Regions from separate parts of the Homo sapiens genome. Here all the other regions are linked to region 1. The links are contacts of gene promoters, found by promoter capture Hi-C in blood cells and fetal thymus (Javierre and others, 2016). All regions are on one chromosome and are shown on one strand. Each heading gives the region's core, a stretch centred on a gene start or on the middle of the fragment in contact. The rest is flanking DNA. Distances are from core to core; before and after follow the strand shown.

What was found. Contacts are between HindIII fragments. The CHiCAGO score rates a contact against its expected background, and 5 or more counts as called.
Region 2: a fragment that was not itself captured here is called in contact with the fragment with the promoter of CDC42BPG in region 1 in 2 of 17 cell types (M2 macrophages and M0 macrophages); the score reaches 6.8 in M2 macrophages.
Region 3: a contact is called between a fragment that was not itself captured here and the fragment with the promoter of CDC42BPG in region 1, in 2 of 17 cell types (M1 macrophages and M0 macrophages). The highest score is 5.6, in M1 macrophages.

What each region holds. Positions count from the first base shown.
Region 1 is chr11:64,843,000-64,846,175 of GRCh38, reverse strand. It overlaps CDC42BPG (CDC42 binding protein kinase gamma), which reads left to right and starts at 1,523. Exons shown (of 37, transcript NM_017525.3): 1 at 1,523-1,766. The coding sequence starts at 1,607. RefSeq lists silencers at 1,344-1,693, 1,704-1,753, 1,784-1,833 and enhancers at 2,048-2,860, 2,885-3,176. The HindIII fragment of the contact is 2,728 bases long and covers 795-3,176 here.
Region 2 is chr11:65,134,879-65,138,048 of GRCh38, reverse strand. No RefSeq gene overlaps it. Among named protein-coding and RNA genes, the nearest start is that of SYVN1, 1.9 kb to the right of the region's middle. RefSeq lists a silencer at 2,851-3,034 and enhancers at 3,020-3,170, 2,888-3,170. The HindIII fragment of the contact is 539 bases long and covers 1,416-1,954 here.
Region 3 is chr11:65,186,556-65,189,872 of GRCh38, reverse strand. It overlaps CAPN1 (calpain 1), which reads right to left. Exons shown (of 22, transcript NM_005186.4): 7 at 2,575-2,658; 8 at 1,833-1,918; 9 at 1,385-1,459; 10 at 1,127-1,287. Among named protein-coding and RNA genes, the nearest start is that of CAPN1, 6.3 kb to the right of the region's middle. RefSeq lists enhancers at 1,089-1,635, 3,007-3,317. The HindIII fragment of the contact is 3,882 bases long and covers 1-3,317 here.

The DNA of each region.
Region 1 (3,176 bases), core at 274-2,773:
CCCAGCTACTTGGGAGGCTGAGGCAGGAGACTCTCTTGAACCTGGGAGGCAGAGGTTGCAGTGAGCCGAGATCGTGCCACTGCACTCTGGCCTGGGTGACAGCGTGAGACACCATCTCAAAAAACAAAACATCAGCCTGGCCTAGTGGTGTGAGCCTGTAGTCTCAGCTATTCGGGAGGCTGAGGTGGGAGGATCACTTGAACCCAGGAGGTTGAGGCTGTGGTGAGCTACGATTGCACCACTGCACTCCAGCCTAGGGGACAGAGTGAGACCCTGTCTCAAAAAAGAGAAAGAAGTGTTGTCTAGGCCGGGTGTAGTTGCCCATGTCTGTAATCCCAGAACTCCGGGAGGCCAAGGTGGGAGGATTACCTGAGCCCAGGAGTTCGAGACCAGCCTGGTCAACATAACAATAACCCTTGACTCCAAAAAGTAAAATAAAAAATCAGCTGGGTGTGGTGGCATCTGCCTGTAATCCCAGCTACTCAAGAGGCTGAGGCAGGAGCCTAAGAGGTCAAGGCTGCAGTGAGTTATGATTGCATCACTGCACTCCAGCATGGGTGACAGAGAGACCCTGTCTCAAAAAAAAAAAAAAAAAAGTGTTGTCTGAAGCCACCAATATGTCCCACCCTTTGATCTCTCCTCATGGTGCCTGGTCCATCCCAGCTGGACAGAAATCAGAAATACCACTGGACAGAGCCAGCCCCTCCCCTCCCCAACCTCCTCCAGCCTATCTCAGACCTCTCCTTGCCCTTCACGTTCCAGGTCAGACCTCAGGCCCTGCTCCTACTGAAGCTTAAAACGCCTGTGGTGTTGGTACCAGCCCAGCTCCACCTCCACCCCAGGGTCTAACTTAAGAGCCACCTTGTCCTCAGCCCCTCAATTCGCCTTCCTCCTTCCCAAGCCTCAGTGTGTCCATCTGCCAAATGGGCGTGACCATCCCTACCCCAACTTCCTGTCTCCCACATCAACTCTAATGATACAATCAAAGTAAGATTCAGAAACTTTTTTTTGGGCGGGGGCGGGGGGGCGATGGGTGCCAAGCGCGGGCAAACCATGGAGAGAGCGAACTACAATTCCCATCCGGCTCCGGGGCCGCGGGCGTCCCTAGCCCCTCTCTCTTAGCCAAGGGCAAGGCGGCTGCGACCCAGGGGGCGAGAGAAGTTGCAGTGCTCCGCGCCTCCTGGGTCAGGGCCCAGGGAGGGCCCAGGTAAGTCTGGGTCTGGGGCCGCGCGGGGATCTGGGGAGTCTTTCCGACCCCGCAGAACCCCACCGCGCCCCGCGCAGAAGTCAGTTGTTCTCCCCGGCCCGCCCCCGCACTTCCTGGCCGGGAGTTGGGCCCGCCCCCGCGCGCCTCCGCCCCCACCTTCACCTCTAGCCGCGGCTCCCATTGGCCGGCGCGCACCTGCCCGTCCGTCGGGGGGCGGGGCGCGGCGCCCAGGTGAGGGCGCGCTGGCGGCGGCGGAGGAAGGTGACAGCGGGGAGGGCGGGAGAGGGGCGGGGGAGGACGCGCGGACAGAGCCTCAGACGGTTGGGCGGACGGACGGCCCGACAGGCGGGCATGCGGGCGGCCAGACTGTAGCCGAGCAGCGAGGCTCCGGCCGCAGCCATGGAGCGGCGGCTGCGCGCGCTGGAGCAGCTGGCGCGGGGCGAGGCCGGCGGCTGCCCGGGGCTCGACGGCCTCCTAGATCTGCTGCTGGCGCTGCACCACGAGCTCAGCAGCGGCCCCCTACGGCGGGAGCGCAGCGTGGCGCAGTTCCTGAGCTGGGGTGAGTGGCGGGGCGGCACGGAGCGGGGGCGGGCCTAGGGATATCGCGCCGAGACCCCCGCACCCGCAGACTTTCCCGCAGGGACCCGCACCCCCACGGGCTTCCCTCGCAGACTCCCTGCAGTGGCCCTGACGCGTACCACCGGACCCCCGCGGCCCGCACACTCGCCTGCACACCTCACCCTCACTCCAATTCTCACACACGCTCTCTCCCTCTCACAGACCCCGACACATGCACACACATACCAACTTGTGCTCAGGTATCGACCGCAGACGCATGTACCCAGTGCACCGCCTAGAGTCCCTTACAGATTTCCTTGCTTACAGGCCACACCTGACGCAGGACACACACAGACCCTCATGCATGTCACCCACTGATACACGGGCTCTGTTTCTCCTTCCTCTCGGATGCATTGAGACACACAACTCATGGAGAGACCCAGGGAGCGCTGCAGACCACCCCGACCGCATTGGCACTGCAAAACACACAGATCTGTAGGTATCGCACACTTGCAGACCTTCCCCCCACCAACACACACACCCCCAGCTCCCTGGGTACAAGACCACTGCAGCCTGGACTCAGGAACCGATCTCCAACCCTTGGCCTGTGCAGGCTGCTGGCCAAGCTCCTTGGGGGCTGTGGCGCCGGGGCCGGGGAGGGGGGCCTAGCTGGAGATGGGTCTGTACCTTTCCTGGTAGACTCATCTGAGTCATTGGGAGTGGCTGGCCCGGGGTGACCCTGAACCCACTGTGGGCACTGGCGCCAGCTGGAGGGTTCCCTGGTCACACCCTGCCGGGCCATGGGGAAAAGGCACGGGGGCCTGGCCAGGGCGGGGTGAGGCAGGTGTTTGCCCAGTGGGCAACTAGCGTTCCTGGCACTCCTGAGCTCTGGGAAGGCACAAGGCCTGGGGTAGAGGGGGAGGCTGCCACCTAGATGTGCCAGGGAGTTGTCCCCTAGCCCCAACCCTTCCATCCAGGGCGAGGCAGTCAGAGGCCCCTGCCTCTGTGCCTGTCTCCCTGGTATGCCTCCGTGCTATGCCTGTCTGCCTGTGTTGTTGTCACCCCCCCCATGACACCCACACACGTGTGTGTGTTTGCACACACATGTGTGCTCCTCCCTGACTGCCTCCAGCACCTCTGCCTGGGACCCCGGCATGGGGGCCCTCTGTTGACAATCTCCCAAGGTAACTCAAAGGGCTGTGACTCATTCCTCTCCTGCTTGTCTCTACTTGTCCCTGCTCCTGCCCGGAGCCCCCATGCCCTGTGGGAGGCCAGAGGATTAGGCAGCCTGTCCAGGGGCCTGGATCCTCCTGCCTGTGGGCCTGGGCTTCGGCCCTCTTCTGGCGGGTGGGTCCCTATGGTGCTGGCTTCAACTCCCACGGGGAGGCCCGGGGCTGCTCCTCCCCAGCTC
Region 2 (3,170 bases), core at 436-2,935, 290 kb before region 1:
GACCTCAAGTGATCTGCCCGCCTCAGCCTCCCAAAGTGCTGGGATTACAGGCGTGAGCCACCGTGACTGGCCAAACATTTGATTTTTTGAAGCTATGTAAATAGTATTTTGAAATTTTCAATTTCTGATTGCTTATTGTTAGTACTTAGAAGTACAACTGCTTTTTGTCGAGGCATGGTGGCTCATGCCTGTAATCCCAATACTTTGGGAGGCCAAGTCAGGAGGATCGCTTGAGCCCAGGAGTTCAAAAGCAGCCTGGGCCTGATAGCAAGACCTTGTAGCTACAAAAAAAATTCTTTTTAATTAGCCTGCCATGATGGCATGCACTCCACCCCAGCCTGAGGAAGTAGGCAATGCTTTTTGTGATATTTGAGGAGAAAGACGTTCCTGGGAGAAGGAAAGACATATGCAAAAGGTGATGGGCCTGCCTGGGGCATGGTAGGGATGGTACACCTGAGACCCCACAACTGGGCATTATGCCTGAAGGGCAGAGTGTGGGAGGGAAGGCAAGACGTGAGCTCAGGTGTCAGGAGATCTCTCTGGCCGTTCTATGGAAAACGGATGAGGAGGAAAGCACAGGAAAGGGGACTGTTGCATTTTCCCAGGCATGAGATGATGATGGTCTGGACTAGGACACTGGCAGTGAAAATGGCAAGGAAAGAATGAATTCTAGAGACACTCAGGAGGTAGAACCCACAGGATGTCCTCTCTTGCCTATTGCACCGCAAGAGCCTCCTAACTGGTTTCCCTGCTCCCACACTTGCCTTCCTCCCCACTACAGATTATTCCAACACAGGAGCTGGAGTGACTTTTTTTTTTTTTTTTTTAGTTTTTTTTGAGACTGAGTCTCGCTCTGTTGCCCAGGCTGGAGTGCAGTGGCACGATCTCAGCTCACTGCAAGCTCCGCCTCCCAGGTTCACGCCATTCTCCTGCATCAGCCTCCGGAGTAGCTGGGACTACAGACGCCCGCCACCAAGCTCGGCCAATTTTTGTGTTTTTTTATCAGAGACGGGGTTTCACCGTGTTAGCCACGATGGTCTCGATCTCCTCACCTCGTGATCCAACCGCCTTGGCATCCCAAAGTGCTGGGATTACAGGGTCAGCCACCACACCCAGCCTGGAGTGACTTTATTACACCTAAGTCAGAGCATGTCACACCTCTGCTCAGCACCCTCCAATGACTTCTCACGTCACTCAGAGGAAAAGCCAAGGTCCCTGTGATGGCCAATGCGATCTTGCCCTGGCCTCTTTCCTACGCACCCTTCACTAGTTCCACTATAGCCACACTCATCTCCTTCAACAAAGCAGCACTGCTCCACCTTTATTGAGCTGTAACTCTTTACCCAGACATCCACTTGGCTCATAACCTCACTTCCTTTAAGTCTTTGCTCAAATGTCACCTTCTCAAGGAAGCTTACCCGATTATCCTCGCTGATACTGCAACCAGCTTCAAGTACCCCACCACATCCTGATCCCCTTTATTCTGTTCTACTTTTTTCCTATAGCACTGATCATCTTCCAGCGTATTAGATTTTTCACTTATGTCTGTGGTTTGCTGTCACATCTACTAGGATAAGCTCCACAAAGGTAGAGATCTTTATTTTGTTCACTGACATCCTAAGTCCCTAGAACAGGAGACACTTGATCCATATTTGTAGACTAACTGAATAAATGACTTAATTACCAGTTTGGATGTGGGGGCAGATAGTGAGCATGATGCCCGTTTCCGGAGCTGGGGTGCAGACAGTGTCTAGGGACACTGAACTGTTTTAAAAGCAGGATAGATCCCGGCTGGAGACCACACAAGGAAATCATCAGCACCTGGGTCAGGGGCTGGACTGGAGCAGAGGAAATCATGCAGGAAAAGTAAAGAGAAGGACATCAGGTAAAGAGAAGAGGACACATGCATAGCCAGAGAGAAAAGAGGAGCAGAGGCATGTGGATCACAGAAGCTTAGGGAGGAGACTTTCAAGAAGGGGAGAGAGGTTGAGTCAAGCAAGGGCTGAAAGCCAACCATTGGATGCAGTCACTAGAAAGTTACAGATAGGCAAGGTGTTGTGGCTCACGCCTGTAATCCCAACACCTTGTGGGGCTGAGGTGGGAGGATCGCTTGAGCCCGGGAGGTCGAGGCTGCAATGAGCCCTGATGGCGCCAATGCACTCCAGCCTGGGCGACAGAGCAAGACCCTGTCGCAAAAATTAATAAATAAATAAATAAAAAGAAAAGGGGGAAAAAAAGTTATACGTGGCCTTACGGGGAAGCCAACTCTGACTGGTTATAAGCTGAAACTGTCAAGTCAACAGGTGGCAGGGAAGATGGCTGAGACCAACAGCACAGAGATTTAGAGGCAGACAGACCTGGCGCCAATCCTAGGACAGGTTTTGGTAAGCCTTTGAATTTCAATTGCCCCACGTTTCGGGGGAGGGGGTAGCACCCCCTAGCTCATAAACCTTAGTGATTGATGATTAAATGAGATGACGGAGGAAAACGCAAGGCACAAAGTGGATGCATTAGCTCCATTTTGTTAATCAGCAGGCTTAGTTGGCTGCGACCCAGACACGAACTAAAATACAGTGCAGCCCAGGACCAGTGGGGGTCTTGCTTATGGCTCAGAGCTGAACAACACATGGGCAGCAAAATCAGACACTGAGATGCGGGCAGGCCTGCGACGCTGAAGTCAATTCCTTTGAACAAACAGAACACTTCCGTCCCAAGATTAGCAGGAATTAATCTCCCAGTCTCGGGTACACCTGGTTGTCCCTCCCTGTCCTGGCGCGGCAAACGTTCCCGGAGGCCAGCCAGGGATCACTCGCCCAAGGACTGAGCTTTCCCTACTCTCAGCCAACTGGAGCGGGACCAGGGCCTAGGCAACGCAGCTGTCCGCCCCTAACAACCACTCACCTGCTTTCCCCTTTCTATAGGCCAGCAAAGGTACATTCTTTTTCTTATTGGGCCGCGTAACTTATCGCAACCAATCAGTGGCAGCCACGGGACCCAACTCACTCCCACACAACTTGTGGGGGTGATCATGGAGAAGACAAATTTTTGTTTTCCGCATCCAGTTCTCTCAGAGAGCACCGTATTTGTCAAACTGTTGTGACTCTCCCTAAATGTTTAAGAAAACATTTCATTCCCCTCAGGCTTGTATAGTCTGTCCCTGGCCTACTCCC
Region 3 (3,317 bases), core at 233-2,732, 340 kb before region 1:
GGGGAGATATCGAGGTGAGAGTGGAAATGTTACTAACCAGTAGTGGAATTGCTGGGGATTATGGAAAATGCTCATTTGAGATTTGTGGCTAAGAATTTACAGGGAAAATATGGCATCGGTTATGTGATTTCTCTCCTGCCACACTCAATGGTTCCCAAGCCAGTGGAGATGGGTTTTGTGCCAGATGATGGGAGACAGGGGCCAGGGAACTGAAAGTGTTTGTAGGAACAAGATTAAAATGATAGCTCTAACCTAGGTAAGGAGAGAAGGCAAGATGGGAGAGGCAGGATGGTACGCAAGTGATGGGTTCAACGGACTGGCTTGGTCGAAGGGTTGAAGACTAAGGGAGTGGAAAGAGTCGAAGGTGGAGGTCAGAGAGCGGGTGTTTGCAAGACAAGGCAGCTCTGGTGCCCTCATGGTGGGGGCTGAGCTAAGGTAGAGAAAAAGCGTGCTGCAGTGAGAGTGACAAGGAACTGAGAGGCCAGGCTGTGGCCCACATCAGCCACATGGATCTAGAAGCCCAGGGAAAGGTGGCAAGAGAAGGCAAGAAGGGACCTGGCACAGTGGCGCACGCCTGTAATCCCAGCACTTTGGGAGGCCAAGGTGGTCGGATCACCTGAGGTCAGGAGATCGAGACCAGCCTGGCCAACATGGAGAAACCCTGCCTCTACTAAAAATACAAAAATTAGCTGGGTATGGTAGGTGCCTGTAATCCCAGCTACTCGGGAGGCTAAGGCAGGAGAATTGCTTGAATCCGGGAGATGGAGGTTGTAGTCAGCCAAGGCCACGCTACTGCACTCCAGCCTGGGCAACAGAGTGAGACTCTGTCTCAGAAAAAAAAAAGCGAAGGCAGGAGGGAAGGGCCCAGGAAAGGAGTGACAGGCAGGTGGCTGGATGGCCACAAGATCTTTGCCCCTCATGAGCACCCTGGGCTCAGGCCCCAAGACGGTGAGTCAAGCATGCCTCTTTAAAATTTACTAGGACATTTAATATTTTACTCCTCAAAGCAAATTCAAGAGATCAGCCTATATCTTGCAAGTGAGGAAACGGAGGCTCAGTAAGATGACGTGCCTTCTGGAGCCCCTAAGCCAGGAAGCAGCAAGACCCAGAGCCCGCCCCTGTGCACCTGGGTAGTTTCGGCAGCCCCCCGCGGTGCTCCCCCGCCGCCAGGTGCCTTCGTAGAGTGTGGTGTTCCATTTGCGGATGGTCCGGCTCTTGAGGGCGTCGGGTGTGAGGTTGCAGATCTCCAGGCGGGTGAACTCCCGCATGAAGTCTCGGAATGACATCCTGAGGTGGGAGGTACACAGGTGAGGCACAGCCCGTCAGGGCACAGAGCTGATGTGTAGGGGTGGAGAGGTGGGGTAGAAGGGGAGGGGGCGCTCACCAGAACTCCCCGTCCTCCATCTTGACCCGGAGCTGGTCCCGTTCATATGGGTCCACGTTGTTCCACTCTGAGGAGCTGTGAGGAGCAGGGCTCTGCCAGGGCTGGTGGGCACTGACCTGCCTGGCCTCTGTCCCTGGGGCCTGTCTACCCTGGCCTGTCTTCCCCCGGCCCAGCCCAGGTGGCCTCCTCAAGGTCAAGCGCCAAGGTTCCGCTTCTAGGGGGTGGTCTCATCAGGGCCAGTCTGATGCCCTGCACACACCCGACGGCTGGGCACAGGGGCCCGCACGGCCTGAGCTTTGTCAGAGCAGTCCCCCAGACCCAGTCGCGCGAAGATGGGCCCCTCTGCTCAATCCTGAGTCCAGCCTGGCCTGGTAGAGTCCCGAGCAGAAATGTCGGGGCACCTAACAGTTTCCCCAAGGCACTCCAGACAGTGCCCACTGCCCCTCACCTGTCGCTCCAGGCTCCCGTCCACTCCACCTCGCCCCAGGGGTTCCGCATCCGGATCAGGCTCACCACCTGGCCTCGGTAGTTCACCTATTTGCCAGAGCTCCTGTCAGTGCTAGCTTCCAGCAGGCACTTTTTTTTTTTTTCTTTTTTGAGACAGAGTCTTGCTCTGTCACCCAGGCTGGAGTGCAGTGGTGCGATCTCAGCTCACTGCAACCTCCGCCTCCTGGGTTCAAGCAATTCAATTCTCTTGCCTCAGCCTCCCAAATAGCTGGAATTACAGGCACCTGCCACCACACCCAGGTAGTTTTTGTATTTTTAGTAGAGACAGAGTTTCACCATGTTGGCCAGGCTGGTCTCGAACTCCTGACCTCAGGTGATCTGCCCACCTCAGCCTCCCAAAGTGTTGGGATTACAGGTGTGAGCCAGTGCACCTGGCCCATGCACGCACTTTAACACTCCGCCTCCCATACCCTCATCCTCTCCAAGCCCTGCTCAGCACCCAGATGAAGCCTGTCCTCTTGGAATTCACAGCCCAGGCAGGCAGCTGCACACATGAACTACAGTCAGTCAGGGCAGGACATGATAGGCATCTCAGATGGGTGTCCCCAGAAGAGAGATAAGGTGCTGCAGGAGGGGAAAGGAGGAGCCAGCACCTTCCACAGCCCTGGTCAGGTGCCAGAGAGGCAAGGACAGGCCAGGGGGCAGGAACCGCCCTTCAGGGAAGGCCCCACCCAGGGCAGTACCTGCTTGGCCCCGGTCACAGAGTAGGCATGGCCCTTCACCAACTTCTTGAAAGTGATGGCCTCCATGTCTAGAACGCTGGAGATCTGCAGAAAGAGGCACACACTGTGGTCAGTGGCTAGGTCCCCCCGCCCTATCAGATGAGCCCCCAGCACTCAGGGTCTTGGACGTTCCCACTTGCACATACAACAGTTGCTAGGAGAAGCAAGCAGGGACCCCGATCCCACCTATAGACACCCCCACATATAGATGCTGCTCTTTTGGAGAGGGGTAGCCTGGGTACCCCACCAATGCTGCCACTGGGACAGGGGAGCCCAGGCACTCCGCTGACACTGCTACTGGCCAGGGCTGACCAGAACCTGTGCGAACATGCATGTGCACACACACAGCCGTGCACAGCCCACCAGAGCCACACAGCCCTCAGTGGGCCTCACGGAGAAGGACGTGAGGACAGAAGAGTCAGTTAGAAATGGGAATGGGAGCTGGGGTTAGAGCTGCGGATGGCAGTGATACTGGGGTCAAGTCTGGCGTTGAGGACTGGGGAGCGGAGTTGAGTGTGGGAACAGAGGAGCAGGGAAGGGTGGGAATGGAGTGAGTGTGGGATTGAGGCTAGGGATGGGTGGGAACTGAGACCAGGAGATGAAATCTGAGGCTGGTGAACTGGACAGAGGATGGCATGGATTGAGATGACAGGAATGAGGGAAACAGCATGGTAGACGGGAAAACAAGCACAGGAAAGAGCTGA